4 separate regions of the Homo sapiens genome follow, and regions 2, 3 and 4 are each linked to region 1. The links are contacts of gene promoters, found by promoter capture Hi-C in human tissues and cell types (Jung and others, 2019). All regions are on one chromosome and are shown on one strand. Each heading gives the region's core, a stretch centred on a gene start or on the middle of the fragment in contact. The rest is flanking DNA. Distances are from core to core; before and after follow the strand shown. Region 1 holds the start of DYNC1H1 (dynein cytoplasmic 1 heavy chain 1). Region 2 overlaps WDR20 (WD repeat domain 20). Region 3 overlaps WDR20 (WD repeat domain 20). Region 4 has its middle 25 kb from the start of HSP90AA1.

Region 1 (8,000 bases), core at 4,055-6,554:
GCACTCCAGCCTGGGTGACAGAGTGAGGCCCTGTCTCAAAAAAAAAAAAAAAAAAATTCTCAGCGTTTCTAATGTTTTAAGTTAGAATGTACTAAATGAATATTTATTTTAGTATTTTTTTAAAAAATAGAGACAGGGTCTCTGTCACCCAGACTGGAGTGCAGTGGTGCAATCATAACTCACTGCAACCTCAAACTCCTAGTCTGAAGCAATCCTCCTGCCTCAGCCTCCCAAAGTGCTGGGGCTACTGGCATGAGCCACCATGCTCAGCCAATAAAGATAAGAACACTTGAACACTGTCAACCAACATGGCCTAATTGACATTTCTTAGAACATTCCACCCAACAACAGCAGAACACCGCCTTCTAAGGTTGGGATTCAAGGCATGGCTGTATTGAAAATCCAAGGAAGGCTTGGGTGGGGATAGTGGCTCATGCCTGTAATCCCAGAACTCTGGGAGGCTGAGGCAGGAGGCTCCTTGAGCCCAGGAATTTGAGACCAGACTGAGAAACTTGGCAAAACCTCATCTCTACAAAAAATAACAAGCAAACAAAAATTACCTAGGTGTGGTGGCATGTGCCTGTAGTCCCAGCTACTCAGGAGGCTGAGGTGGGAGGATTATTTGAGGCTGGGAGGGAGGTCGAGGCTGCAGTGAGCCACGATTGTGCCACTGCACTCCAGCTAGGTTGACAGAGTGAGATCCTGTCTCAAAAAAAAAAAAAGAAAAGGGCCGGGTGCGGTGGCTCACACCTGTTATCCCAGCACTTTGGGAGACTGAGGCGGGCGGATCACCTGAGGTCGGGAGCTCGAGACCAGCCTGACCAACATGGAGAAACCCCGTTTCTACTAAAAATACAAAATTAGCCACGTGTGGTGGCACATGCCTATAATTCCAGCTACTTGGGAGGCTGAGGCAGGAGAATCGCTTGAACTCGGGAGGCAGAGGTTGCGATGAGCGGAGATCGAGCCATTGCACTCCAGCCTGGGCAACAAGAGCGAAACTCCATCTCAAAAAAAAAAAAAAGAAAGAAAAGAAAGAAAGAAAAAAGAAAATCCAAGGCTAGAGGGCGCTGGAGAGGGCGTGCTGATAGAACACAAACCAGCCTGAGGGCCAAGCCTTGGGCCCCTCCAACCTTCAGAGGTCGCGAAGAGCAGGATCCAGCAGAGGAGACTGAGAAGGAACCTTGGTGACGAGGAGGATCTGGAGAGTGCGGCCACCAAAAGCCAGGTGAAGGTGGTGTTCAGAGAAGGAGGGAGTGCCGGCTGCATCAGTGTGTCCACGGGTCAAGCAAGATGAGGACTGAGAACTAGTCACTGGATTTGGCCACGCGGAAGTCACTGGTGACCTTGCCAAGAGTGCCTGCCCATGAATGTGGGGATGGGGTGGGAAAGGCAGTGCCCACATATGCTTATTCTCAAGGAGTTTTGCTGGAAAGGGCAGCAAAGCAGTGGAGAGGTGCTGGCAGTGGGCTACGGTAGGGCTTCCTTCTTTTCCTTTAAAGAAGGGATAGAATAGCTCAGACATCGGTGGAAAAAATCTAGGAGAGAGAGAGAACATCTGGGAGCGAGGGGAGAATTTCAGAGGTGATAACCCTGAGAGGAGATGGAGGCAGCACACCCAGGGAGTAGTGGTCCTGGCTGGGGACACCGACAGCCTTTGGTAAGAGAAGGGGCCACACACTACCAGAGGGAAGGGCCAGGGCGGTGTCAGAGGTTTTGAGGGTCTGCAGGCAGCCTGGGTTAATCCAGGGGTCAGGAGAGCCAGGTGGGAATTGTCTGCCCAGGTAGAGACAAGATTCACTAACATCTTCCCCATGGGCAGTGGGGTGCATGCTGGCATTTTCATTGTCATTACTTGTTCTGTGACCCTGGACAAGCAAGCCAGGTGACCTTGGGCAGGTGAGCCTGCTGTCACCAGGATGGATGGGCAGCAGGCTGGGGAGGTGGGTCCCCTACAAGCAGAAGAAAATTCCATGCGACACATCCTTTGCTGCCACTAGACGGCGCCAAGAGACCGTTCCGTTCTCACCACGCGCTTCAAACTCCAACCTGCTGGGGTCGAAGCCTCCAGGAACCAGATCTGGTTCAAGCCTCACCCTGAGGCTCATTTGACAAGGAATCAAGACAGAAAGGGGGTGGATCCTGGAATGAGCTTCCTCAGAAAGCGTCCTGCAGCCCTGCGAACCTGTGAAGTCCCAGCCTTGCCCTCCAGCAGCACCCTGACAGCCCCAGAGATGTGGCCAGGAAGGTCTTGATCCACAGTGCACCCCGTGTCCCCACGGCCACCGCCAGCGCCCCTTCCTCGGGGTAAGGCATTAGTTTCACACCCACCAACCAAGTGCACGCTTTGGTCCAGGCCCCGCTGGTGCTGAGAATCCCGAGAAGCTTAGACCTCCCTGCTCTCACAAGTGGGGATGAATGAATGAACGAATGAGCCCAAGATGGAAATTCTTTTTCTTTAAATTTATTATTATTATTATTATTATTATTATTATTATTATTTAGAGACGGGGTCTCACTCTCTTGCACAGGCTGGAGTGCAGTAGTGAGATCACAGCTCACTGCAGCCTCGACCTCCACCTCAACCTTTTGAGTAGCTGGGAACAAGGGTGTGCACCACCACACCTGGCCAAATGTGGAATTTCCAGGGAGTGGAGGGGAGATCCTGGGCACAGAGCCTGAAAGGGCTGGGGCAGCAGGGGTTCCTCTGAGGGGGTTGGTCCTGCCCGAAGGTTGTGAGAGGGAGAGGAAGGATGGTATGAAACTGGGCACCCGACTTGAGACTTGGACTTAAGGAGACATTGTTAAGAGAAGGGTGGGAATGAATGGGATCTCATCATGGATTTCCAATAGGATACAAGCGCCCTACCAGCCACTATCATCCCACATCAACCTAGAACGAATTCTCTCTCCAGCTTGCCCTGCCCCCTGCCCTGCCCAGAGTCTGTCCAAGCAGACTCTACCACAGACAGGAGAAAGCTGAGGCAGCAGAACAAGAGACGGGAGAGGCCAGGTTTGGGTGAGGGGCCCTACCCCCACCAGGGTCAGCTTGGGGTGTGCTGGAGCCAGAGTCCTGTGCCAGGAGGCAGAAGGGGCACCTTGAAAGAAGCTCCCCACACCCTTCAACCCTGGCACAGCCCAGCCAGCCACCCAGGTAATGCACTTAAAGTGCTCAGCACCCAGTCAGCGTTGACCACTCTTCTCGTTATATATTAAATACAACAAACATCTTTCAAGAACAAAAAGCAAGCATGTTTGGTCCATTCATGAATCCTTGTACACTGATTGTTCGGGTTCTTTCAGTTCCCATCCACTTAGAAATAACAAACATGTTTCATTTTGAGCCTATCCTACAGGGCCGCAAATCCGGAGCCTGCAGTTTGTTCTCTTGGCCTGGGGCCAGGTTGCAGATGTTTGAGTCCCTTGGATCCCTGAGTGGCTGCGTCTCCCAGTCTGGTGCTGACTCATGGTGCAGCCAGCATGCAGCCTGCCCATCGGCCAGGTCCCTGCAGGTTTCTGAGTCTCAGATGGTGGATGGCCTATTCAGAGTTCACAGATCTGCACCTAATAGACTTTCCTCTTTGTCCCTCTTTCTACCCCTAAAGTACATGTGAGGGGAAACCCTCTGCATGGTGCCTAGCACGCAGTGAACACTCAGCGTTCGCTGTCAGTGGTGTGTTATTATTATTCATTACCATTAGGATCCTTGCACAAACTCATCGCAGTTGCCTATTTATTTTTTCCAGGAAGATTACTCGGAACTGCTTAGGCACATCACACCAGGGCGGACTGATGGAGAGCAGGAAGATGGGGTATTCATCTGTCCCCTCTTCCACATGCTCCTTAAAGACAAGAATCATCTGATTAGTCTCCGTGTTCCAGCAACCCCCTGGGACCCAGCAACCGGTAATTAGGCAAGGAATAAGCTTATTGTATGTTTCACAGTTTTTCAAAGATGATTTGGGAGAATCAAATCATACCATCATCATTCCACCAATCAGGACTCGGCACTCTGACAGTGCACTTTGATGTTTAAAAAAAACAAAAAAACCAAAAAAAAAAAAAACGCCATTGGCTTCCCTCTCTCCACCCAACTTAAGAAAGAAGTTATGAATGTGAACTTTCAAAGGCCAATTACTACCCCTTAGAAGAACCTACCATCTCTAAACTACAAAGATGGGCAGCCTGGATTCTATTATTTTTATTATTTTACAAAATTCTTAATTTTTAAATACACATAGATATAGGGTCTCGCTAGGTTGACCAGGCTGGTCTTGGAACTTCTGGCCTCAAGCAATCCTCCCATCTCAGCCTCTCAAAATGCTAGGATTACAGGTGTGAGCCACCGCACCCAGCTGGGCAGCCTGGATTCTGGCTCTTATGTAGTCATGGTGTAGGGGAGGAGGTCGTGGTGGGTCCGAACTAGGGGGAAACTTGGTGGGCAGGCAACCCAGCCCCTGCCTTGTACGGACCCAGATACTGAGGCCCACAGAATGACAGTGCCAGCTCTAGGGGGCTGGAGGAGAGCCATTGCTGGAGGTAGCTGTTCTCAGTAGGTCTCCCTCTTGGTCCTCACAGCGTCCTCGGGGACAATGATTTTTGTCATTAGGAACCAGATCCCATCACAGCTTGGCTTTACGTACAGTGAAGGTGTCATTCCTGGCTTAACCTTACACTGCCCCGAAGGCCCCCTCCCCAGCTGTCCGTTTCCAGCCTGGCAATGGGACTCTCTGAGCACGCCCCTCATCTCCTCCCCCTCTGAAAAGTATCCTCAATCTCCCGGTCTATATCTAATAACACATCTGTCGTGCCTATATTTTGGTACCTGATACGTAGTCATTCATTCATTCAATGAGAGAACATTTAATGAGAGGTTAAGGGGCTTAGAACAACGCCGGGCACAGGCTAAGCGCTCACTAAACGTTAGCTCTCGCCAATAACATCACTGATTCACTATAAAGTTTCTCTGGCTGTGTGCTATTCGCTGCGTCCACAGCAGTGAAGAAGACAGACGCAGCCCCTGACCAACCTCGCCAAGCCCGGGCGCCGAGCCAGGACGTTGAGCCAAGTCCCCATCTCCTAGGACTCGCAGTGCGGAGGCTGCGGGCCCCGACCAGCGCCGAGACTACAAGTCCCAGAAGGGCGCGCGGCGACATCGCCGGGCCCGCCCCCCGCGCACGCGCGGCGCCGTGACGCTAAGGCCGCGAGCGAGCGCGGGTGGCTGCGGCGGCTGCGGCCGGCGGGGCGGGGCGGGGCCACCTGGCAGTGGCTGCCTTTAGGGCGGAGCCGGCTCCCGCTCTCCTCAGTCTGCGGTGGGCTAGCGGACGGTCCGGCTTCCGGCGGCCGTTTCTGTCTCTTGCTGGCTGTCTCGCTGAGTCGCGGCCGCCTTCTCATCGCTCCTGGAAGGTCCCGAGCGCGACACCATGTCGGAGCCCGGGGGCGGCGGCGGCGAGGACGGCTCGGCCGGATTGGAAGTGTCGGCCGTGCAGAATGTGGCGGACGTGTCGGTGCTGCAGAAGCACCTGCGCAAGCTGGTGCCGCTGCTGCTGGAGGACGGCGGCGAGGCGCCGGCCGCGCTGGAGGCGGCGCTGGAGGAGAAGAGCGCCCTGGAGCAGATGCGCAAGTTCCTTTCGGACCCGCAGGTCCACACGGTGCTGGTGGAGCGCTCCACGCTCAAAGGTGCGGGGCCGCGGAGGGCAGGGTCGCCAGAGCCAGGCCTCGCGGAATGCAGGGCCTGCCAGGTCCTCCGGGGTCGCAGATGTCCCCGGGATGGGAGGAGCCCGGCAGCTGCAGATGACCCCTGGATGGGCAGAGCCCGGCGGCCGCAGACGTCCCGCCGGCCGGGTCCCCAGGGCCGCAGACGCCCCGCAGAGGCCGGCGCGGCGCCCGGGGCTCGCCCTCGCCACACCCACTGCCCGGCCCGGAGCCCCCAGGGCGCCCCGCTCCTGGTCGCGGGGAGGGGAAAGGGGTCCCCGTCTGCCGTCACCCAAAACAATGGGGTCGCTTTGTCTGCTCGGGCCTCTCAAGATGGCCGAGTTGGGTGGAGACAGCGTCTCCCTGGGCTGAGAGCGGGCGAGGCCGCATCCCTGCCTCCAGTGTCACATGAGCTTTTCGGTTTCGATTTGTGTCCAAGCCAAGTGGCCTTCGGGAGGGATGTGTCGGGGGCAGACCCGCGGAGCTGGGGGCAGCCGGGGTTCTGGTTCGGGAGGAGGTCGGGCGGGTGTCCCAGCCCTGCCTTGTGGGGACCCAGAGGCCGAGGCCCACAGAGCGACGGTGCCAGCCCCGGGCCTGCGAGCATCACTGTTGTAGGTGGATGCTCTCACAGCATCCTTGCTGAACGGGTGTATCCTGATTTTACACCTGAGGAAACTGAGGCTCAGGTTAAGTGATTTCACCCAAGGTCACCAGCTAATCTTAGTCCTGAGACTAGACTCAGTGTCTCAGCTCCCCATCCACTGCTTGTTTTCACTGATCATACCTCATATTTGTTTAATGCTTCGATGATGTTAATGATAACCCTGTAATATTTGAGTCTAATTTTACAGATTAAAAAAAAAAAAAAAGATTCAGGTTAGGCACCTAGTAGGGGGAAGAGGCTAGAGTTAGCGTGTTCCAGCTGTCTCCTCAAATAATGATCGCCCACCAGCAAGGTTACATTCATCTAAGTCTGGGGCTTGCCTGCAGGCAGGCTTTCTCATGGATTCATTACAACCACTTTGTAGCCCATTACAACCACTTTGGGTGTGGCGTGTCCATCTAAGAACCTAAGGATGATGTCCAAGGTTAGCCTCTAGGGATTGGAGATTGTCTAAAAATATTTGCCAACAAGCTTCTTAAAATTTCAAAAAACTGTATGGTTCTCTCAGTGAGAGACCCTGTACTGTCTGCCCCATCCTTAACACACACTGTGTTTCTGATGGTTTGTTTCTTTCAAAGGCTATTCTTACTCAGAAGATGCTTCCCTGTAGCCTTGGTTTCCTGCCAGAGATTAGCAGGGTGTAAAAGAATATTTTTTTCTTATATCCACGTGGAATGTTCAAGGCAAATAAACCATTTGAGCATATTTAGAGTATTAATGTTTTTGAGGGTTGTTTACTGTGATGTTTGGGATTATGTATTCCTAAGTGGAAGCCACAAAAGTTAAAAAAAAAAAATTTATCTACTCTTTTTTTTTTCCAAAAAACATATAGTCATTGTAGAAAATGTACTATACAGCTAAAGTAAAAATCACTGGGAATTGTTTGACCCAGATATAATCACTGTCAGCATTTTTGGTTTATGTCTTTGTGGTCATTTTTCAATGCATATTCGTCATTTTATTAAAATACATTTTAATCTGCATTTTTAAAGTTAATTGTATTTTGAGTAGCTTGACCATTGCTAATCCTTGATATTTTTATTGCATAGTTTATGTATTAGAATCAGTGATTTTATTTTTTTTACCTTGTGTCACTCTTTTTATGAAAAAAAATTTAAGTTTTATACTTTGCTTCTAGAGTGATCACCAGTAATTCGCTTTTTCCAGGCATCTTAAAATTGGACGTTGCTAAAATTATTGGGGTGGGGGGACTATGTTTATGTAGTACAATATCTACTACAAATTCTCTCTGTTGTCTTATGAGTACCTTTTTTTCTTTCAGCAAAACAAATATGCAGGTATCCAAATCTTGGCTCCATAATGACTTGCACTTTTGAAAGTTGACTAAGGAATGAGACTATCTAAAATTGAAATCCTACCTCATTTCTGTATTTATAACAATCCTTGAAGTATTTCTACCAATTCAACCTGTCTATAATTTATTTTTCACTTACAAAAACCTAAGGAAAGATTTTTAAATTAATCCAGTTTTATGATAGATGGTCTGTTTGTCTTATTAGCAGCCTGGCTACACTAGGACACCTTAGATATAAGTAGAGACCCAGGACTTTTGGTAGGAGGGCTTTCTTCTTGGTGGCTTTTATGAGTTAGCTTTGGCATTTGTACATTTAATCAAATATGT
Region 2 (8,000 bases), core at 2,064-4,563, 230 kb after region 1:
GGTGAGAGAGATTCTAAGTGTTCCTTGGGGTCAGCCAGGTCTACTTTTGTGTCTTCTAGACAGTGCCACTCACACTAGTGTTGACAGATCAACTTTAAAAAAATTTTAGTCTATGTGGATTGATACTTTTGTAAAATAAAAAGAATTAATAGGAAAAGAAACTGAAAAAGACATACAGAATATAAACTCTAACTTTTTATCATTACATTCAACAGATATAAAATTTGTCCGTTGCCATAAAAGTTTCTAAACTCTTATTCTCAATGTCTGTACTACAGGCAGTGCATTTGACTGCAGACTAATAAACTAGTCCTGGACTGGTACACTTCAAGAGCAGTGACCTAAGAAGAAAGTTTGTTAAGCAAATTAGTAGAATAAACAGGATATTTTTAGAATATTTACCTGAATTTTTTTTTTTTTTTTGAGACAGAGTCTCGCTCTGTCACCCATACTGGAGTGCAGTGGCACGATCTCGGCTCACTGCAAGCTCCGCCTCCCAGGTTCAAGCGATTCTCCTGTCTCAGCCTCCCGAGTAGCTGGGACTACAGGTGCCCACCACCACGCCCGGCTAATTTTTGTGTTTTAGTAGAGATGGGGTTTCATCATATTGGTCAGGCTGGTCTCAAACTCCTGACCTCAGGTGATCCACCCGCCTCAGCCTCCCAAAGTGCTGGGATTACAGGCGTGAGCCACCGTGCCTTCTGGCCCATTTTACCTGATTTAAGAGTAAAAATAATCTCTTCTCATTTAAAATGCTTCCATCTTTTCAGTAAAGTTCCATATTGGGAGGCAGGGATGTAAAAATATACCAATAACTGAAGCCATTATAGTTGTGAGGGGTCCCTAAGTCTAACTCTAAACTGGTGGCAGTACTTGGAAAAACAGGTGCTTTTACTTCCTCTGTTGTTTCTGAGAAACATTACGTATTTTTTAATTTATATTAGGCTATTTTCTCTGTTAATTTCTGGCCAGCCTTTAAATTGATCTGTGTATTTCAGCGCATAATTTTAGGTATATTCTTTCAGGGGAAAGTTCCCTAAGTGGTTGTTGCTGTCATTTGTCTTGCTATGTCATCTAGCCTGAAGTGCAGTGGTGCAATCCTAGTTAACTGTCACCTTGAATTCCTGGGCTCAAGCAGTCTTCCCACCTCAGCCTCCTGAATAACTGGGACTACAGGCATGCACCACCACACCTAGCTGATTTTTTATTTTTCTTAAGCAAACTAAAAAAAAAAAAAGTCTCAAGAGTTGAATATGCTGATACAGTAATTATGTATAACTTAATTGTTCGTATTTCAAATTGGATTTTTGTTCTCTAGCTGCCAGTTATATCTTATTTTATATTTGTAGGTTTTTTTTTTGTTTTTTTTTTTGTGGCTGTCTTCCTCGTTCTGAGATGAATGGCATGTGGTGTTCTCTCAGGCCAGGATTCTCTTTCCCTGCCATCCGAGCCGCTCAGAAGCTGCCTTCCTCAGACAGCCTGTCCGTGGCCATCGTCCCAGGCCCCGCTGCTCACTCGCAGCACTCGGCTGAGCTGCCTTCAGCCTGCCTTGCTGTACAGCGGCCGCTCCCCTCCACTGGCCGCTTTTCTCCTCGCTCCAGTCAGGACTCCCTTTTGTTTTGTATCATGCTTTGTATTACACTTTTCAAGGCTCTTTCATGTATATATTCTCTTATTTCATCCTCCAGACAATCCCATGAGGTTGGTAGAACAGAGATTCTCATCTCCGTTTTAACTGAGGTGAGGCTGGGAGAGTGTCCGCATGGCATGCACCCTCATTCCTTTGCCCTGGGGCTCCCAGAACTACTTGTTACCGCTCAGGTCCAGACTTCTACATGTGCAAGGTTTTGAGTTTGCTCAAAGACGCCTGTAATTTTGAGGTCCTCTTTTCTACTCATTACTTATATTTGTTATTGGAAAGTCCAACATTAGAATACTTGGTTCGATGTCACAGGCCTCTTTGGAAGAAAGAAATCTTCAGAACCTGAGGGGGCGGTCAGTAGAGAACTAGAGCCGGGAGCCCCAGAGGGCCACACAGCGTGAACTGGGTGTCTTGAGGGACAAGTTCTGCTTCAGGGTTAGTTGTCTCCACTGGAGATTTTCAGACAAGAGTGGGAGGGGGTGGGTTTCCCTTATTTCACCAATAAAAGCCCAGCATATTGGGATGCCACAGGACATTTCTCATGAAGAAAAGAATCCTTCTTGAAAGTGGGGAGGGCACATTGAAAAATCACTTTTCACCCAAGTGAGAAATCATTTGCTTTTGACTCTCTCTCCCCATCCCCTTAATGGTCAAACAGACCTGGGTTCCAAATCCAGCCCTGCCACTTACTTAGGTAGGTATGGTGACGTTGGTCAAGTTATTTAACTTCCCTAAACTTGTTTTCTCATCTGTAAAATGGGTAAAATATTGTCCACTTTGGAGCATTATTGTTAGGATTAAGGACAATGCATGTAAAGTCCTTTGATTATGGCCTCGATAAGTAATGTTCCCCGAAACCTAATCCAGAAGAGGGATTTTGACCCAGGAAGGGAGCCACCTGTATAGAGTGGGCTCCAGCAGTGGTTCTTAGACTTGAGCGGGCATCAGAATCACCTGGAAGCCTCTTTACGACTTGCTGGCCCTACTCCCATAGTTTCTGATTCATTTAGTCTGGGGTGAGGTTTGAGATTTTTGCATTTCTAAGTTCCCACATGCTGCTGCTGCTGCTTCTGGTTTGGGGATTACACTTTGAGAACCACTGGGCTGCAGGTAACTGGCCAGTGGGCATGTAGGTGCTGTAGATACATTTGAAAGCCGAGCTTTTTATGTGGTTACTCTGTTAGACACTGCTTGAAATGCATTTTGAAAATACTGAATTTAATATCTCAAGGATATTTCCTGCTGAAGTCCAGGAGTCTTTGTTACATATATTTGAAGGAGAATAAGTTGTGAAAGTAACAGTTGTAAACATATTATAGATAGTCTAATAATATCTAATTGGCTAAGGTATGTGAAAGTGCTTTTATAAAATGTTAGATGATGTTAAGTCACAACTGAAAAAACATTTTAAATCACTTTGTTTTTAAGATGAAACATCATAATGGAGTATAAAGTAGCATAACTTAGATTTCTCATCTCAATGTGCTGTTTACTGTATGTATTTTTCTCTTTCTCCTCCAGGCTGCTGACTTGAGTAAACCAATAGATAAAAGGATATACAAAGGAACACAGCCTACTTGTCATGACTTCAACCACCTAACAGCCACAGCAGAAAGTGTCTCTCTCCTAGTGGGCTTTTCCGCAGGCCAAGTCCAGCTTATAGACCCAATCAAAAAAGAAACTAGCAAACTTTTTAATGAGGAAGTAAGTAGCACCCTGTCTTAGCTGTTAAGAATCCCTTTAAGAGTTGATACATTCTTACCGAGGGTAGTCGGCCTTATTTTGCACTTCAAGCTAAGCCCATTTTTTATTCGCCCAGCCCTCCTACCTAGTATGCCCAAGTTTAAATGTGGTGGATTAATTTGTTGACCTTACCTGTTCTTCCTTGGGGTGACTGTTTTGTGCATTTTTATGGAGCATGCTCAGGTGTCTATAACAGGTGTTTTAAAACTCTTCTATAATGGAGATAGGGACAGTACTGTAACTCGGTATTTATAATTTAAGTAAGAAAATGTGGAATTCCAAAGTTGGTTCACATCACCAGAACATTTCATGCAGATCAAAGAACTTGATGACATTTCCTTAGGCTGCTTAAATTGTAGCCAAAGCTTTTGTATGTATGTTTGACAGTCATTTGGCTAAGGAGTACTTCACTTGCTCTTGAAAATAGTTACTGTAAACTCATCTTTGACATAGTTGGAAATCCTGGCGCTTAAAGTTTGGTCACATGACATAGCTTTTGCCAGTGTTGTAGTATGTACTGGGGTTTCTAGTATCTTCAATTTCATTCTGGAAAGAGCCTGAGATATCTGAGCTGTCTGTTCAGGAACATGTCAGGACTGTTAAATGTGGCATATAGAAATTGCCAAGTAGATTATATTTTTTAAAGCTGTTGGAGCATCTTTCAGCCTCAAGTATTGCTATTTCATATTTAATATTCTTCCTCGTCTGTTTCAGTATGACTTTTCTACCAAGTGGAAAAGATAAGGTAGGCTTGCTGAGTTAGAAGCCCTGGGTTCCAATCTCTACTTGGGACCTTGCCCCTGAGGCGCAAGGGTCAGGCTATGTGGGACCCCCTCCCTTTTGCATTGTTGCATGGTTTTAACATCATTAACTTGGAACAAAAACACATTATAGAGTATGGTTTTTAAGAAATAATTTTGTTTGGGGAAGAAAATTCAAATTGACAAATGGCAGTTAAAATTTGGATTCTTTTGCAGTTATGGTACTTGCTATTCATGCAAATCAGTATCCACCCAGGGTGCTCCTGTTTGACATTGCCAGTGGATTTGATAAGATCTTATGAACCATGCCATCTCTTCTAGTTTCCTCTGAGTTGACTGGAAACAAAACTTGCCATCTGGACTGACAGATTGTAGAGGAAAAGTATTTAATCCCATTTTCCATTAAAAAAAAGTTAAGCAGAAAATATTTTATTTACCTAGATGTTTTTTTAGTATCATCTGCAGAAGTGATTTCTAAGTAGCTGGATGATTATTTTTTTGGTGCTGAGTTTGGGGAGCAGCGCACAAAATTGGCCTCCTCTGCACTGTTAGCAGAAATTGTGAATTTGGAATCATTGTGGGTTTTTATTGTTTAGGTAGGGGAGAGTGTGATTGGAGGGGGCAGGGATTGGAGCCATGTAAGGGCTGTTAGTAAACAAGACCCGGAGGCAGCCCTGGCCGAGGATGGTACAGAATGCCGCTTAGAGAACAAGAAAGTTTTGTGTGTCGTGGCAGGGGGAGGGCAGGGAGTTGGAGACCACACGTCCCCAGAATCTCAGGGCTCTGGGAGCACTCAGGCTGCATTGGCCAGAACTATCCCTGCCCTGGTGACTGGGAGTTGCAGGCTGGAAGGCAGCTCCTCATTCTTCATGATTTAAGCATGAGTTATCTCATACTCACTTTACATTTTATTTGAGAAATTGCTATTTAGAATGCTAAGACTGTGTGTGGTTTAATGCCAGCTTTGCATTTACAGCTTGAGGCTGAAATCGATTGCCCTTCATAGTAAGGAGATCCTCTGGCCATGTGGATACATTTTTATCAGATTTTGGTCAGAATGTCTAAGAGCAAGGGTCACCGGAGGTTTGTTCCTTAGAGAGTGCCAGGAATGGTGGTGAAGTAGTCATCGTGTCGTGCTTTGCTGTGGTGTGACATTTACAGGTTTCAAGGCACTTTTACCTATGGCCTCTACAGGGAGGGTGGGGAGTTGTTCCCATTTTACAGATGAGGAAATAGTCAAAGAGCACATAAGTGAATTGTCCAGATCAGGTAGCAAGTTGATGATAGAGTTGGAACCAGAAATTAATTCCAGAAACTCATTGGTTACAGGACCCACCATGCATGGTTGCCAGATGAGCTCTTGCCCTTCCGGGAGCTCACAGTTTAGTAAGAATGGACAGAGAGTACTGGGCACGTGTCAGCACAGCGATATGAACAAAATACCAAGGGCTAGCTGCCGCAGGAATTCTTTAGTATGCATTTTAAAGTTTTTTAAAATGTTAAGTTCACTGGGGGAGTTCCAAGAAATGCTTTTAGAAAGTGATGTTTGATGTGGGTCTTAAAGGGTACATAGTCATTAGAGGAGGGTAAGGAAGGCCTTCAAAGCTGGAGGAACAACTAGGCATGTGAAAGAACATCCAGTAACAGCTTGGCCACATCACAGTGTGGGACTTGGAGTGTCAGAGTTCGAAGCTGGAAAGATAAATTGGAACCAGCTTGTCTTATAAAAGCCTTTTCATGTCACGTGAAGCAATTTGGAACTGACACTGGAAGATGTGGGGGAACCTTTGGCCTTTTAATGAAGGGAGTGACAGGATCAAATGTGTTTTTTTAGAACTCTTGTCAGCACTTGTGGAAGGTGGATTGGAATGAAGAAAGACAGAATGAAGGTAGCAAGACCAGTGAGGAGGCTCTAGTAACTGTCCAGGTGAGAGCTGAGGGCTTGAACTAGAGTTGCGGCCATTGTTTCATTCATTCAGGACCTTGACTACCTACCACATGCCCAGCACTGGGTCTGCAGCAGTGGGCAAAACCTGCCCTCCTGTGACCCCTCTCAGGAGGGAAGAGAGGTATAATAGCACCACCCCCGAAACACTGGTGACCACAGATGGTGACACTTTGTGATGTAAGAGGCAAGAGAGCAGGCCCAAGAAAGGGAGAGAATCACAGAGGTCTACTTTATTTATTTATTTATTTATTTATTTATTTATTTATTTATTTATTTATGAGACAGAGTCTTACTCTGTCACCCAGGCTGGAGTGCAGTGGCGCAATCTTGGCTCACTGCAACCTTCACCTCCCAGGTTCAAGCTATTCTTGTGCCTCACCCACCCAAGTACCTGGGATTATAGGCCACCTGACTAATTTTTGTATTTTTAGTAGAGACGGGATTTCACCATGTTGGCCAGGCTAGTCTGGAACTCCTGGCTTCAAGTGATCCACCCACCTCAGCTTCCCAAAGTGCTGGAATTACAGGCGTGAGCCACCACGCCTGGCCAACACAGAGGTCTACTTTAAACTGGGAGGCAGAGGACATCTCTCGGACGAAGTGCTATGTTTTAAGCTGTGCCTCATGTGAGAAGAAGGCCAACCAGGTAAGGAACTGGAGATGGAGCTTTCCTGCAAAAGGAATAGCACATGAGGGCCCTTGAGCCCAAGGAAACTGAAAGAAGGACGGTTTACCTGGGGAAGGTGGCATGAAGTAAGGGCATGAGATTGGAGGGCCACATCACCTACGGCCTGATCCAGATTTGTTTCTTAGCCTGAAGTACGGGATTCCTTAGAAGGGAGCAGGTGCACAAGGCAGGCAGATTGGTGTTTTTGAAAGGTACCCTGGCTGCTTTTTGGAGACTGAATTGGAAAGGTGTATTAATAAATCAGGTTTCTGGGTGTCTCTTGCTGTGTTGGGTGAGACTGGGAAAGGAGCAGTTGTCAGGGAATGGAGGGGAAGATCAGAGGTTCTGGTCTGTACTTGCTAAGTTCGAGAGACCTGTAGATAGTGGGATGTATGGATCTGGAGCACAAAACTAGGGGTTACAATTTGGCAGTTGTCAGCATAGAAATAATAATCACATCCTTGAGATTAGATGAAAGGTTCTTTGGAGAGATGATGGTGAGAACAAAGAAGGCCTGGGTCTGAGGCCTGATTATACTCCAAGATTCTGGCCATCTCAGCTACTGCTTTCAAAGGGGCACTTAACACACAGTTAATTACCACGACATTTACAACTTCACAGCCCAGAATGCTGAGGGCTCGGACACCAGCTCTGCCACTTTCTGCTTGCAGGATGATGTGGGTCTTACCTCTCCTCGGTTGGAAAATGGGTGGGAACAGCACCCACCTGAGAGGTTTGTGATGAGGCTCAGATGAGTGAGTTCAGGCAGGGTGTTTGTGAAGGGCCTGAAGAGCGAGCCTTGGTGGATGCTCAGCAACGTGGAGGTTGAGAGAAACTCAGGCTTCCTTTCCTGGGAGGGGTGGTGTTGGACGGAAAGGGTTCCGTGGGAGGTGAGATACCAACCGTTTTGAAATACAAATAATTAATTTTTTAGGACAAGCAGGTAGGAGCATGGCAACCCAGGCAGAGAGTCAACATGTGTGAGGCTGAGGGTTGGCCCGCTGGTCACAATTACAGCAATGTGGCCTTTCAGTGTTCCTCACCAGAACACCTCTCAGACCCACCTGTTACCACACGTGCACACACCTTCACACACCGAATCCCCAGCATCAGTTACTCTGGCCTTTGCCTCCTTTCTGGTGCCTGGTACATGAAAATGTAATAAATGTTGGGATGGAAAGATGAGTGAAATGGAATTATAAATTTCAGAAATCCACCTGAGATAAACATAGATGAAAA
Region 3 (8,000 bases), core at 3,109-5,608, 210 kb after region 1:
TTTCTTTTTTTTTTTTTTTTTGGAGACAGGGTCTCACTCTGTTGCTCAGGCTGGAGTGCAGTGGTTCGATCACAACTGTCTGCAGCCTTGACCTCCCAGGCTCAGGTGATCCTCCCACCTCAGCCTCCCAAGTAGCTGGGACTACAGGCACGTGCCACCATGCCTAGCTAATTTTTTATTTTTTTTTAGTAGAGACAGGGTTTCATCATATTGCCCAGGCTGGTCTCCAACTCCTGGGCTCAAGCAGTCTGCCTGCCTCGGCCTCCTGAAGTGCTGGGATTACCGGCATGAGCCACTGGACCAGGCCTAGTTTGTTATTTCCATTTTTATTCTCTCCTTAATCTTTGAGTTCTAAGCAAGTGATTTTCTTTTTTTTAAAGACAGGGTCTCACTTGGTCACCCAGGCTGGAGTACAGTGACATCATCACGGCTCACTGCAACCTTCGCCTCTTGGGCTCAAGTGATTCCCCCATCCCCCACCCCCCTTCTCACCCCCAGATTGGACTATAGGCGTGTACCACCACGCCTGGCAGAGACCGGGTTTTGCCGTTGCCCAAGCTGATCTCGAACTCCTGAGCTCAAGCGATCTGCCCGTCTCAGCCTCCCCTAAGCAAGCATTTTTAAGTTTCTATGCTGTTTAATTTTTTTTAACTGATTAATTTATTTGCATTGTGTGGTCATGGAATATGTTTTTATGATATTGGTTGTTTGAGATTTGGTGAGTCTTTCTTTGTAACCTAGTTAAACCATTCCATATCTTTTTAAAAGGATGTATATTCCTTATCTGTTAGGCTGAAGGTGACATATATCTGTGCATGCATGTTTGATGAAGTTTGTAATACTGTTCACATGTCCATATCATTACTATTTTTATGACTGCCCCTCTTATTTATCAGTTTCTGATAGATGTGTTATAAATATCTCATTGTGATTCTGGACTTGACAGTTTCTCTTTGCCAGTTTTGCTTTATATTAAATTCAAAATTGTTAGTCTGTGCATTGTTCTTTGTGTTGGTATACTATACTCTTCATTATCTCTATTTGTTTTTGCCCTAATTTTGTTTTGAGGATTGGACAGTTTATTTTGGTTACTATTTGCATGGAATGTCTTTATATGCCTTACTGTCTTGTCACTCATGAGACTGTCTTTTCCTTTACCTCACTCCCTCCACCTACTTTCACTCTATCACTAATTCCTATTGATTTTCTCTCTGAAGTATATATCTTGACTACATCTGCTTTTGTTTTCACTGCCCTCACTCATCTCACCTGGGCACTGTACAGCCTCTGACTGGTCTCCTGGTCCACTGTTGCTCCCTCTAATCTATTCTCTGGAGAGCAGTCAGTGATCTTTAAAAATGTGAATCGGATTGTCACTCCCAGGCTTGAAAATCTTTCAGTGGTTCCTGTTGCTTTTAGCATGAAAGACTAAATTCCTAACACAGCGTACAAGCCCTGCATGAAACTACCCCTTGCCTACCTTATCAGTCACTCTTCCCTTCATTATATCTTTCTGACTTGCTGGCTTCCTTTTAATTCCTCTCACAAACCTTAACCTTTTTTGACATAGATTCTTCTTCTTATTTATTTATTTATTTGACACAGGGTCTTGCTTTGTCTTCCAGGCTGGAGTGCAGTGCTGCAGTCATAGCCCACCGGTAACCTCAAACTCCTTGGGCTTAAGCTATCCTCCTGCCTTAGCCTTCCAAGTAGCTAGGACTGTGGACATGTGCCGCCACACTCGGCTAATTTTTTTCTTTCTTATTTTTTTAGAGACAAGCTCTCGCCATGTTGCCCAGGCTGGTCTCTAATTCCTGGCCTCAAGCTGTCCTCCTGCCTTGGCCTCCAGAGCACTGGGATAATAGTTGTGAGCCACCGTGCCCAGCCTAGATTCTTCTTAATATACTGTTTCCTTTGCCTGGAATGTGCTTCTATTCCTCACTCTCTGCCCCTTCATCTGTTTAACTCCTACTCCTTGAAATCTTAGCTCATATGTAATTTTGTCCAAGCGTTTTACCCTGACCTTCAGACTAGATCCGGTCTCCCTGTTACCGTCTACCAAGTCGCCTCTCTAATGCATGCCACGGTAGTAATTAAATAAGAAATTGAAATGTAATGTCTCTTTACTCCCTACCCACCAAACTAGATTGCAGACTATTGAGGGCTGATTTTATCTGATTGATTGCTGAACTCCTGTCTATTCTGCATGCTAGCTCAGTGCCTTTGATGCATTATAGGTACTTCATAAATATTTGAATGAATGGATAAATATACAAGGGACTTTGTCATTTACTTATTGACAGTGGGCAGACTGCTATGGTAAGCATATTGTATGCAGTAGGTATTTGGTTAAATATTTTCAATGAACAGTTGTTCGCCTGATCTTTCTCATCTGTGTTTGGTGACATGATATATTTAAAGAACAGCAGGTGGTTATTTGTACCCCTCATTTCTCTCTACTGTATTTCTCTCTTCCCCCCACTTCCCATACATCTCCCATATCTTACCATAGCACTGGTAACAAACAGGTACAGGCATGAAAGAAAGACCTGAGAAATCTGCCTAGTTTAGGAGCTTTTTTAGAAGGCAAGCCTGTTAATCATTCAAATCACTAAATCAATTTGCTGTGTGGGAATTTTTTCTTAATTGGCAGCAGTAAAAAGGAAAAATTTTTCCCCCCAAAGATAAAAATAGAGTAGTTTATTGTAGAAAATTGGAAAACTCAAGGAAGAAAAAAACTCCATATCCCACAGCTGTTAGTAATTTGGTATTTTTACCTGTCAGTCTTTTTTTTTTGGTGTTCAGTTATATATTTTAAGCATAATTTAGGTCCCTAGTACCGAGTATTATGCCTGGCACGGTGTAGGTGCTCAGTAGTTAGAGAATGAACCCAAGTATGTGTTTTTTCAATTTTAAAATGGCTGCAGCTTCCCAGTTTGGTATGTAGATGAGCATTGCTTTTTTTTGATGGTGTTCATAACCTGTTTTAGAGTAGTTGAACTTTATATGAAGGTGTGACTTTTAAAAAATGAGCCCATTAGATCATTGTAAAAAGTTGTTTGGGTTAAATATTTTTGGAGTCACCTGTGAGTTCTTTTTTTCACGATCTACTTCCAGTCCTTTCAGTAGAGCCTGTTGACTCTGCCTCTAAATATATCCAGAATCTGAACACTTCTGCTTCTACCACTACCACCCTAGTTTAAGGAAGCAGCGTCTCTCACTTGGATTATTACAGAGGTCTCCAACTGGCTGCCCACCTCTATCCTTGCCTCTTACAGTCTGTTCTCCTGATGTCAGCCAGAGTGATCGTTTAAACAGTATAGGTCAGATCATATTCTTCGCTGCTTAAAACTTTCTAATGTGTTTCTATAGCGCTTAGAATAAGATCTGAATTGCTTTTGATACAGTGCTTTTCCCCTCCCCGATTCCCCAGTGTGATTTGCTGCCACCTCCTCCTCATTTATTCCATCCATTGCATTCCATGAAGAGCAGCTGCACCCCTCCCCGTCCCACCCGTGGAGCCAATGGTACACGCTCTGCTTAGAATCCTTAGCCCCTCTGCTTAGAATCCCCTCCCCAGTGGCCATGGCGCTGGCTCCCTCACTTCTTCAGGTCTCTGCCCAAATGTGGTTCTGTGAAAGAAGCTTTCTCTTAGCCCTGCCCAGAAAGGCACTGCCATCACCTTTCCACCTCAGTCGTTCCACTCCCCTTTCCTGACTGATTGTTCTTCATGTTCCTTGCTGATGTTCATTTTGTTGCCTGCTTACTGACTAGTCCCACCTAAAATCTACAAGAGGAGGGCTTTATCTGTCTTTGTTGGTGAGATACCAGGATCTAAAATGGTGCCTGAAGCATATAGAATTCAATAAATATTGGATGAATGGATAGTGGATATTCTCAAGTAACTTTTTTTTTTGAGGTGAAGTCTCACTCTTGTCTCCCAGGCTGGAGTGCAATGGCGTAATGCTCACTGCAAGCTCTGCCTCCCGGGTTCAAGTGGTCCTCCTGCCTCAGCCTCCCGAGTAGCTGGGATTACAGGCGCCTGCCACTACACCCGGCTTATTTTTGTATTTTTAGTAGAGACAGGGTTTCACCATGTTGGCCAGGCTGGTCTCGAACTCTTGACCTCAGGTGATCCACCCGACTCGGCCTCCCAAAGTGCTGGGATTACAGGAGTGAGCCACCGCGCCCGGCCTTTCTCAAGTAACTTAGTGAGAAAGTCTGCATTGGGAATTAGGTATTGTGACGTCTCATAGGCCTATTTTATTTTTTAATAGGTAATACGTTCACATGGTTCAAAATTCAAAGAGCATGCAATGAAGTCTCTCACACTTTGCCCTCCAGTGCCACCCTGTCCCCCTCCTCTGAAGTAACCAGTATTAAGTTCTTGTATGTATTTCCAGAGATAGCCAATGTTTTAATACACAAAATTACAGATATAGTTTTCCTCCTTTATAAAAATGCAAACTTTAGCATCTGCACTGTTTTACACCTTGTTTTGATTTGTATACTTCGGAGATTGTTCTTTGTCAATAAAGACATTATTGTGTAAAAGCATCTTTAATGCCTGTACAATATCCCATTGTGTACATTTATCATAATTCTTCTTTTGATGGACATTGATGTTTCTAGTCTTTACACGCTATACTGCAATAAATCACTTTGTACATACATCATTTTGCCTTGTTGCTAGTATATCTGAGGAATAAATTCCTGTGAGGAATTGCTGGGTGAAAAGGATATGTGCATTTGTAATTTTAGAGACATAGTCAAATCGCCTTCTAAAAATTGTACCAATTTTTACTTGTGGCATAGTGTATTGTTATTTTGATCTTTGCTAATTTGACAGATGAAAGATGGTATAACACTAGAGTTTTCTGGTGTTTCTTGTGCTATGAATTAAGCATTGTTTTGTATATTTAAGAGCCATCTGTATTTTCTATGAGTTGTTCATGTCCTGAACCCGCTTTTCTACTAGGATTCTGGTCTTTAAAAAAAAAAAAATTAAGTTGGTAGGAGATCTCTTTTATGATTATTTATTTTTAATTTTTAAATTTTTTTAGAGATGGGATCTCACTGTGTTGCCCAGGCTGGTCTGCGATCGTTCCACCTCAGCCTCTGAGCAGCTGAGACTATAGGCATGCACCACCATGCCCAGCTTTTTATATAAATTAGCCCTTAATCTGTGATCTGAGGGACAGACATTTTGTTCCATTTGTCAGTTGTCTTCTGATTTTGCTCATGGTAGTTTTTTCCTACATAGAAATTTGCTTTTTTTCCCTTTATTTTTCTTCTTCCTCCTCCTTGGGAAATTTCATTTTTGTTTTAATAATTATTATTATTTTTTGACATGGAGTCTAGCTCTGTCACCCAGGCTAGAGTGCAGTGGCGCGATCTCAGCTCACTGCAACCTCTGTCTCCCAGCAATTCTGTCTCAGGCTCCTGAGTAGCTGGGATTACAGGCATGCGCCACCATGCCTGGCTAATTTTTGTATTTTTAGTAGTGACGGTGTTTCACCATGTTGGTCAGGCTGGTCTCAAACTCCTGACCTTGTGATCTGCCTGCCTTGGCCTCCCAAAGTGCTGGAATTACAGGTGCAAGCCACTGCGCCTGGCCTCTCTCTTTTTTTTTTTTTTTTTTTTTTTTAGGAGACAGGGTCTTGCTCTGTTACCCAAGCTGGAGTACAGTAGTATAATCATAGCTCATTGTGACCTCAAGCTCTTTGGCTCAAGGGATTCTCCCACCTCAGTCTGGTGAGTAGCTGGGACTACAGGCATGAGCCACACTGTTGGCCTCTTCTTGTACCTCTGAGGTTTCATTTCTTACATATGATTTCTTTTTGATACTGCTGAGATTTATTCTGGTATAAATTGTGAGGTGAGATTTCACCCCATGTTTTAAAAAACAATTTTAGGATTTCTTGATCTTTTATGTCTTGTCTGGAGAGTAATTTGTCAGCTGTTTTCTGCTAAACTGTGAGTGGTGTAAGACCAGTTAGCTATGCCCTGTGTACTTTTCAGTTTAAGACATAGTTGCCTGTATCTTCCCAAAGATCTTATCTTTCGTTGACTTAAAAATAACGGTGGAAATACAGCCTATTGGGGAGTATTGTGTTAAAACAAATTTTATAGAATTTTCAGTTGGTAAAGATTGATAAGATTAGTAATAATAGGTAATTATGCATTATATTTAAGGAATATGTTTAGTACATTATATAATGCTAACGAAATAGGGATTTTTCTGTTTTTTATTTTTGTTTTTTTGTTTGTTTTCCTTTTTTTTTTTTAATTTTTATTTTTATTGATCATTCTTGGGTGTTTCTCACAGAGAGGGATTTGGCAGGGTCATATGTGGAGGGAAGGTCAGCAGATAAACAAGTGAACAAAGGTCTCTGGTTTTCCTAGGCAGAGGACCCTGAGGCCTTCCGCAGTGTTTGTGTCCCTGGGTACTTGAGATTAGGGAGTGGTGATGACTCTTAACGAGCATGCTGCCTTCAAGCATCTGTTTAACAAAGCACATCTTGCACCACCCTTAATCCATTTAACCCTGAGTGGACACAGCACATGTTTCAGAGAGCACAGGGTTGGGGGGTAAGGTCACAGATCAACAGGATCCCAAGGCAGAAGAATTTTTCTTAGTACAGAACAAAATGAAAAGTCTCCCATGTCTGCTTCTTTCCACACAGACACAGCAACCATCCGATTTCTCAATCTTTTCCCCACCTTTCCCCGCTTTCTATTCCACAAAACCACCATTGTCATCATGGCCCGTTCTCAATGAGCTGTTGGGCACACCTCCCAGACGGGGTGGTGGCCGGGCAGAGGGGCTCCTCACTTCCCAGTAGGGGCGGCCGGGCAGAGGCGCCCCTCACCTCCCGGACGGGGCGGCTGGCCGGGCGGGGGGCTGACCCCCCACCTCCCTCCCGGACGGGGCGGCTGGCCGGGCAGAGGGGCTCCTCACTTCCCAGTAGGGGCGGCCTGGCAGAGGCGCCCCTCACCTCCCGGACGGGGCGGCTGGCCGGGCAGGGGGCTGACCCCCCCACCTCCCTCCCGGACGGGGCGGCTGGCCTGGCGGGGGCTGACCCCCACCTCCCTCCCGGACGGGGCGGCTGCCGGGCGGAGACGCTCCTCACTTCCCAGACGGGGTGGCTGCTGGGCGGAGGGGCTCCTCACTTCTCAGACGGGGCGGCTGCCGGGCGGAGGGTCTCCTCACTTCTCAGACGGGGCGGTTGCCAGGCGGAGGGTCTCCTCCTTTCTCAGATGGGGCGGCTGGGCAGCGACGCTCCTCACCTCCCAGACGGGGTCGCGACTGGGCAGAGGCGCTCCTCACATCCCAGACGGGGCGGCGGGGCAAAGGCACTCCCCACATCTCAGACGATGGGCGGCCGGGCAGAGACGCTCCTCACTTCCTAGATGGGATGGCAGCCGGGAAGAGGCGCTCCTCACTTCCTAGATGGGATGGCCTGTTTTTTATTTTTATTTTTTATTTTTATTTTTTTGGAGGCAGCCTTATTCTGTCGCGCAGGCTGGAGTGCAGTGGTACCATCTCAGCTCACTGCAACCTTCACCTCCTGGGTTCAAGTGATTCTTCTGCCTCAGCCTCACGAGCAGTTGGAACTACAGGCTTGTGCCACCATGCCTGGCCAGTTTTTTGTATTTTTAGTAGAGATGAGGTCTCACCATGTTGCCCAGGCTGGTCTCAAACTCCTGAGCTCAGACAATCCACCCACCTTGGCCTCCCAAAGTGCTGGGATTACAGGTGTGTGCCACCGCGCCCGGCCTGTTTTTTTCTTTTTTTAAAATTATTATTATTATTATTATTATTATTATTATTATTATTATTATTATTTTTATCAATAGGTTTTTGGGGAACAGGAGGTATTTGGTTACATGGATAAATTCTTCAGTGGTGATTTCCTAGATTTTGGTGCAGCCATCACCTGAGCGGTGTACACTGTACCCAATGTGTAGTCTTTTATCCCTCATCCCCCTCCCACCCT
Region 4 (8,000 bases), core at 2,893-5,392, 150 kb after region 1:
TCAGTCAAATGAAGAATGTGTGAACGCTCTGTCCCACCAATCCTGTTCCTGAGCACAGACCCAAGGGAAGTTCTGACAAGGATCCATAGGAGGGCACGTATGAAGATGCTCACTGTAATACTGTTTGTGTCTTTGTGTGTATAAAGGCTTCTGGTTTCTGTAATTGTATACCCTATCATTTCACTGAATTCTCTCTTAAATTTTTTTTTTTTTAGAATTGGGGCCTTGAAGCCCAGGTGCAATGGCTCACACCTGTAATACCAGCACTTTGGGACGCCAAAACACGAGCATTGCTTGAGACCATTTTGAGACCAACCTGGGCAACATGGCGAGGCCATGTCTCTACAAAAATTTTAGAAAATTAGCTAAGTGTGGTGGCATGTACCTGTGGACCCAGCTACTTGGGAGGCTGAGGTGGGAGGACTGCTTGAAACTGGGAGGTTGAGGCTGCAGTGAGCCATAATCATGACATTGCACTACAGCGTAAGCAACAGAGCGAGACCTTGTCTCCAAAAAAAAAAAAAAAAAAAAAAAATTGGGCCTCGTTCTGTTGCCCAGGCTGGACTTGGACTCCTGGACTCAAGCAATCCTCATACCTCAAGCTAGGACTACAGCCTTGTGCCATGGTGCCTAGCTTTGAATTCTTTTTTTAAAAATTGTTTTATTAATAGCAGTTTTTTAGTTGATTTTCTTGGGCCTTGTAAATATTGATCCTATCATTAACAAATAGTAAAACTTTTAACTTCTCTTTTCTAATTTTTACACATCTAACTTATAACTTTTTTTTTTTTTTTTTTTTTGAGATGGAGTCTTGCCCTTGTTGCCCATGCTGGAGTGCAATGGCGTGATCTTGGCTTACTGCAGCCTCAACCTCCTGGGTTTGAGCGATTCTCCTGCCTCAGCCTCTGGAGTTGCTGGGATTACAGGTGCCTGCCACCACACCCAGCTAATTTTTTGTATTTTTAGTAGAGACGGAGTTTCACCATGTTGGCCAGGTTGGTCTTGAACTCCTGACCTCATGATCCACCCACCTCGGCCTCCCAAAGTGCTGGGATTACAGGTGTGAGCCACTGAGCCCAGCCCCTCATTTGTAACTCTTATCTGATTGCTTTGGCTAATACTTTCAATACACTGTTGAACAGTAGTGGAGATAGTGGTCATTCTCTTCCTGACTTTAGCAGGGCTATGTGGATTGCATTTCATTTATTTTAATTTTTATTGGACAGCTGAATTTTTTAACTTTTTAAATTAAGGTATAATTTACATAAAGTGCTAAATCCTAAGTGTAATACTTGATACACTTTTACAGCCAACACCCAGCTCAAGATGCAGACTTTCCAGCACCCCAGAGGCTCCCTATGTTTCTTCCCTATCAATATCTCCCTCAAAGATAACCAACATTCTGACACCATTGATTAGTTTTGTCCATTTCTGAACTTCATACAGATGGAATTACACAATACGTACTCTCATGTCTGGCTATGTCCACTCAGCATTAGGTCTGTGGGATTCATCCATGTTGTATGTAACAGTAGTTCCAAGTTGAATATCCCTGATACGGTTTGGCTGTGTCCTCACCCAAATCTCATCTTGAATTGTAACTCCCACAATTCCTACATGTTGTGGGAGGGAGCTGGTGGGAGGTAACCGAATCATGGAGGTGGGTCTTTCCTGTGCTATTCTCATGATAGTGAATAAGGCTCACAAGATCTGATGGTTTTAAAAATGGGAGTTTCCCTGCACAAGCTCTCTCTTTGCCTGCTGCCATACATGTAAGACATGACTTGCTACTCCTTGCCTTCTGCCATGATTGTGAGGCTTCCCCAGCCATGTGGAACTGTAAGACCATTAAACCTATTTTTCTTCCCAGTCTTGGGTATGTCCTTACCAGCAGCATGAAAATGGACTAATACAGTAAATTGTTACCAGCAGAGTGGGGCACTGCTGAAAAGATAACCCAAAACTCTGGAAGCAACTTTGGAACTGGGTAATGATGAAAGGTTAGAACAGTTTGGAGGGCTCAGAAGAAGACAGGAAAATGTAGGAAAGTTTGGAACTTCCTAGAGACTTGTTGGATGGCTTTGACCAAAATGCCGATGATGATATGGACAATGAAATCCAGGCCGAAATGGTCTCAGATGGAGATGAGGAACTTGTTGGGAACTGGAGCAAAGGTGACTCGTTATTTTATTTTTTTTTGAGATGGAGTCCTGCTCTATCATTCAGGCTGGAGTGCAGTGGTGCAATATCAGTTCATTGCAAATTCCGCCTCCTGGGTTCAAGCGATTCTTCTGCCTCAGCCTCCTGAGTAGCTGGGACTACAGGTGCCTGCCACCACGCCTGGCTAATTTTTTGTATTTTTAGTAGAGACAGGGTTTCACCATATTGGCCAGGCTGGTCTCGAACTCCTGACCTTGTGATCCACCTGCCTTGGCCTCCCAAAGTGCTGGGATTACAGGTGTGAGCCACCGCACCCGGCTGACTCATGTTACGTTTTAGCAAAGAGACTGGTGGCATTCTGCTCCTGCCCTGCCCTAAAGATTTGTGGAAATTTGAACTTGAGAGAGATGATTTAGGGTACCTGGTGGAAGAAATTTCTAAGCCACAAAGCATTCAAGAGGTGGCTTGGGTGCTGTTAAAGGCATTCAGTTTTGTTTGTTTGTTTGTTTGTTTGTTTGTTTGTTTTTGAGAGAGTTTCACTCTGTTGCCCAGGCTGGAGTGCAATGGTGTAATCTCGACTCACTGCAACCTCTGCCTCCCGGGTTCAAGCAATTCTCCTGCCTCAGCCTCCCAAGCAGCTGGGATTACAGGCGCCCACCACCATGCCCGGATAATTTTTTTTTTTTTGAGACAGTCTTGCTCTGTGGCCCAGGCTGGGGTGCAGTGGCACGATCTTGGCTCACTGCAAGCTCCGCCTCCCGGGTTCACGCCATTCTCCTGCCTCAGCCTCCCGAGCAGCTCGGACTACAGGTGCCCCCCACCACGCCCGGCTAATTTTTTTCTATTTTTTAGTAGAGATGGGGTTTCACCGTGTTAGCCAGGATGGTCTCGATCTCCTGACCTCGTGATTCACCCGCTTCTGCCTCCCAAAGTGCTAGGATTACAGGCGTGAGCCACTGCGCCCAGCCCAATTTTTTGTATTTTCAGTAGAAATGGGGTTTTGCCACGTTGGCCAGGCTGGTCTCAAACTCCTTACCTCAGGTGATCCACCTGCCTCTGCCTCCCAAAGTGCTGGGATTACAGGCATGAGCCACTGCACCCAGCCAAAGTATTCTGTTTTATAAGGGAAGCAGAGCATAAAAGTTTGGAAAATTTGCAGCCTGGAAATGCACTAGAAAAGAAAATCCCATTTTCTGAGGAGAAATTCAAGCTGGCTGCAGAAATTTGCTTAAGTAACGAGGAGCTGAATGTTAATTTCCCAAGACAATGGGAAAAATGTCTCCTGGGCATATCAGAAGTCTTCACGGCAGCCCCTCCCATCACAGGCTTGGAGGCCTAGAAGGAAAAAATGGTTTTATGGGCCGGGCCCAGGGCCCCCTTGCTCTGTGCAGCCTAGAGACTTGGTGCCCTGAGTCCCAGCCACTCCAGCCATGGCTAAAAGGGGCCAAGGAACAGCTCATTGCTTCACAGGGTGCAAGCCCCAAGCCTTGGCAGTTTCCACATGGTACTGAGCCTGCAGGTGCATGGAAGTCAAGAATTGAGGTTTGGGAACCTCTGCCTAGATTTCCCTTTTCATGTTCCCTAGATACAATGGGGGTACAGGCATTGGGTAAATACACCCCTTCCAAATGGGAGAAACTGGCCCAAAACAAAGCATATCCTTTCACAGCTTCTTGAGAAGGGGCACAAAGAGGGTAAATTGAAACCCTGCATGTCCCACAATATCTTTATTCTAAACTCATACTTGAGTGATATATTGGTTTAGTTATAAGCTGGAATAAATACTTCCTCAGAATTTTGAAGCCATTTCTCAATTGTTCTCTTACATTCAATAAATTTTTACTGAGACTCTAGTACATGCCTGGCACTGCCTCTAGGCACTTGGGATCCATCAATGAACAACAGAGGCAAAGATACATCAAGATAGCATAAAAGAGCTTTTTTTCCTACTTGTGTTATGGTTTTCAGTGGTGGTGTTTACAAGTCAAGCTATTCTGATTACTGATCCCTTTTATATGACATTTCTTCTCTCTGGAAGCTTGTAGGATCTTTTCTATTCCAAGTGTTCTAAAATTTCAAAGTGATGTACCTTGGTATAGATCTATTTTTATCCATTCTGCTGGACACTTGGTGGGCTCATCCCCTCTGTAAACTCATGTTCTTCAGTTCTGGAAATTTTACTTGAAGATTTTGTGGATAATTTCCTCCTACAGTGTTTGGAGTTTGGACCTCTTAGATTCTCTAGGTGGTCTTCTATTATATGCTCTCTCTCTCTTTTTGAGACGGAGTCTCACTCTGTTCCCAGACTGGGGTGCACTGGCACGATCTTGGCTCACTGCAGCCTGTGCCTCCTGGGTTCAAGCAATTCTCCTGCCTCAGCCTCCTGAGCAGCTGGGATTACAGGTGCCCGCCACCACACCCAGCTAATTTTTGTTGTATTTTTAGTAGAGATGGGGTTTCACCATGTTGACCAGGATGGTCTTGATCTCTTGACCTTATGATCTGCCTGTCTCAGCCTCCCAAAGTGCTGGGGTTACGGGCGTGAGCCACCGTGCCTGGCTCTCCCTTTTTTTTTGTTTTAAAAGAGACAGGGTCTTGCTCTGTTGCCTAGCCTGGAGTGCAGTGGTGTGATCATAGTTCACTGTAATCTTGAACTCCTGGGCTCAAGAGATCCTCCCACCTCAGCTTCCTGAGTAGCTGGGACTGGAGGCACACACCACCATGTGCAGCTAAGTTTTAAATTTTTTTGTAGAGATGGAGGTCTCACTATGTTGCCCAAGCTGGTCTTGAGCTCTTGGCCTCAAGGCATCCTCCTGGCTTTACCTCTCAAAGTGCTGGGATTACAGGCGTGAGCCACTGTGCCCAGTTGATTTCAACTTTCTCTTCCAACCCTTCTAGCATTTTAATTTCTGCTGTTAAGTTTTTAATATTCAAGAGGTTTTTTATTTTCCTAAGTTTTTTACAAGAATGCAGACCGTTCTTATTTCATAGATGCAATATCTATTTAAACTACTAATATTAGCACTTGTTGTAAATTCGCATCTCCCTGTACAGCCTGTTTTCTTCAATATTATTTTTTCTGTTCATTTGTGTCATTTGTTTTGTTTGTATTTATTTATTTATTTTTTTGAGATGGAGTCTCACTCTGTTGCCCAGGCTGGAGTGCAGTAGTGCGATCTTGGTTCACTGCGACCTCTGCCTCCCGGGTTCAAGCGATTCTCCTGCCTCAATCTCCCAAGTAGCTGGGACTACAGGTGCCTGCCACCACACCTGGCTAATTCTTGTATTTTTAGTAGAGACACGGTTTCACCATGTTGGCCAGGCTGGTCTCGAACTCCTGACCTCAGGCAATCTGCCCGCCTTGGCCTCCCAAAGTACTGGGATTACAGGTGTGAGCCACCGCGCCCGGCTTGCTTGCTTGCTTGCTTTCTCTCTCTCTCTCTCTTTCTTTCTTTAATTAATTTATTTATTTTTGAGACAGAGTCTCACTACGTCACCCAGGCTGGAGTGAAGTATAGAGTGCAATGTTGTGATCTTGGCTTGCTGTAACCTCCGCCTCCCAGGTTCAAGCAATTCTCCTGCCTCAGCCTCCCGAGTAGCTGGGATTACAGGTGTGGTATGCCCCACCATGCCTGGCTAATTTTTGTATTTTTAGTGGAGACGGGATTTCACCATGTTGGCTAGGCTGGAACTCCTGACCTCAAGTGATCTGCCTGCTTTGGCCTCCCAGAGTGCTGGGATACAAGCGTGAGCCACCGCACCAGGCATACTCATTTATTTTATTTTTTTATTTTTATTTATTTATTTGTTTATTTTGAGACGGAGTCTCGCTCTGTCGCCCAGGCTGGAGTACAGTGGCATGATCTTGACTCACTGCAAGCTCTGGCTCCCAGGTTCACGCCATTCTCCTGCCTCAGCCTCTGGAATAGCTGGGACTACAAGCGCCTGCCACCATGCCCCGCTAATTTTTTCTATTTTTAGTTGAGACGAGGTTTCACCATGTTAGCCAGGATGGTCTCGATCTCCTGACCTCGTGATCTGCCCACCTTGGCCTCCCAAAGTGCAGGGATTACAGGCGTGAGCCACTGCACCCCGCCCCCATTTATTTTATTTATTTATTTTTTGTTACAGAGTCTCACTCTGTCATGCAGAGTCATGATCTCATGTCTCCCAGGCTCAAGAGTCTCATGCCTCAGTCATCCGAGTAGCTGGGACTACAGGCGTGCGCTAGCACACTGGGCTAATTTTTATATTTTTAGTAGAGATGGGGTTCACCATGTTGCATAGGCTGGTCTTGAACTCCTGACCTCAAGTGATCCGCCCACCTCGGCCTCCCAAAGTGCTGAGATTGCTGGGATTACAGGTGTGAGCCACTGCACCTGGCCATGTCATTTATTTTGATCTCTAAGTCACGTTTAGAGGCTTTTCTCAGATGTATGATAATCCTTGGATGTCTGCTTATGACTAAGAGTAGAGGACTAAAAAGCCATTTGGAAGATCTGAGCACATGGTTTACAGGATTTTTAGACTTTGAGATTCACTGCAGGGTATTCTACATGGGCAATTTGTTGGGAAACCTCTTAAACCTATATCCTGGGGATTGTCAGATTCTCCAGAAAAGAGTCTTCTAAAATTTCTGCATGGAGAGTAAAGATTTGGGTGCCAGTGTTTTGAAAGCCCAGTGGAGAGAAAAGGCAGGGGATTATTCCAGCATTCAGTAATCACACACTCACGTAATCCCCATTTTCAAGAGACTACTCTTGCCTTAATTTGGCCTAGTATTCCCTGTATAGAAATTCTTTGTTTTAGGCCGGACCCGGTTGCTGACTGTAATCCCGGCACTTTGGGAGGCTGAGGCGGGCAGATCGCCTGAGGTCAGGAGTTTGGGACCAGCCTGGCCAACATGTTGGAACCTCATCTCTACTAGAACTAAAAAAATTGGCCAGGCATGGTGGCTCACGCCTGTAATCCCAGCACTTTGGGAGGCTGAAGTGGGTGGATCATGAGGTCAGGGGATTTAGACCATCCTGGCTAACACGGTGAAACCCCGTCTCTACTAAAAATACAACAACAACAACAAAATTAGCTGGGTGTAGTGGCGGGCGCCTGTAGTCCCACCTGCTACTCGGGAAGCTGAGGCAGGAGAATGGCGTGAACCCAGAGGGCAGAGCTTGCAGTGAGCCGAGATGGCGCCACTGCACTCCAGCCTGGGCCACAGAGCAAGAAAAAAAAAAAAATTAGCTGGGTGTGGTGGTGCATGCCTGTAGCCCCAGCTACTAGGGAGGCTGAGACAAGAGGATCCCTTGAACCCGGGAGGTAGAGTGAGCCAAAATCATACCACTGTATTCCAGTCTGGGTGACAGAGCAAGATTCCATCTCATAAAACAAACAAACAAACAAACAAACAAAACAACTCTGTGTTTTACTTTTACAAAAAATAAACCTTAGACTTCTGCTAGGATGGGAGAAGGAATCTAGGAATCTAGATTTGCAAGGATTTATGTAAGATAAACTCCAAGAAGTGAGATTGCTGGATTGAAGAGTACGTACATTTTAGATTTTGATTAGTTATTGCCAAATTGTTCTCTGTTGCGCTTGTAACAGTTTTACACCAACAGCAATAATATGCATATTTGTTTCCTAATACCTTGTAAACAGTTATCAAACTTTTTGACTGTGAAAATATTTAGCCAGGTACAGTGGTTCACGCCTGTAATCCCAGTACTGTGGCAGGCTGAGGTGGGATCAGTTGAGCCCAGGAGGTCAAGGCTGCAGTGAGCCATGATTGTGACCCTCCACTCCAGCCTGGGTGACAGAGCAAGACCCTGTCTTAAAAAGAA

What was found. The method cuts DNA at HindIII sites, captures the fragments that hold promoters and counts their contacts. A contact is called where the count stands out against the background at its distance.
Region 2: a contact is called between a fragment that was not itself captured here and the fragment with the promoter of DYNC1H1 in region 1, in 1 of the 25 tissues and cell types used here (dorsolateral prefrontal cortex).
Region 3: a fragment that was not itself captured here is called in contact with the fragment with the promoter of DYNC1H1 in region 1 in 1 of the 25 tissues and cell types used here (hippocampus).
Region 4: a fragment that was not itself captured here is called in contact with the fragment with the promoter of DYNC1H1 in region 1 in 1 of the 25 tissues and cell types used here (IMR-90 fibroblasts).

What each region holds. Positions count from the first base shown.
Region 1 is chr14:101,959,269-101,967,268 of GRCh38, forward strand. DYNC1H1 (dynein cytoplasmic 1 heavy chain 1) reads left to right here and starts at 5,305. Exons shown (of 78, transcript NM_001376.5): 1 at 5,305-5,679. The coding sequence starts at 5,424. RefSeq lists silencers at 2,017-2,193, 5,138-5,297, 5,788-5,997 and enhancers at 2,116-2,175, 4,858-4,997, 5,042-5,652, 5,653-6,262. The HindIII fragment of the contact is 2,222 bases long and covers 3,156-5,377 here.
Region 2 is chr14:102,191,775-102,199,774 of GRCh38, forward strand. WDR20 (WD repeat domain 20) reads left to right here. Exons shown (of 3, transcript NM_144574.4): 2 at 3,164-3,346. Among named protein-coding and RNA genes, the nearest start is that of WDR20, 56 kb to the left of the region's middle. The HindIII fragment of the contact is 6,324 bases long and covers 152-6,475 here.
Region 3 is chr14:102,165,633-102,173,632 of GRCh38, forward strand. All of the region lies in intron 1 of WDR20 (WD repeat domain 20), which reads left to right. Among named protein-coding and RNA genes, the nearest start is that of WDR20, 30 kb to the left of the region's middle. RefSeq lists an enhancer at 6,196-7,181. The HindIII fragment of the contact is 6,952 bases long and covers 883-7,834 here.
Region 4 is chr14:102,107,753-102,115,752 of GRCh38, forward strand. It overlaps a transcript of HSP90AA1 not described here. Among named protein-coding and RNA genes, the nearest start is that of HSP90AA1, 25 kb to the left of the region's middle. The HindIII fragment of the contact is 6,059 bases long and covers 1,114-7,172 here.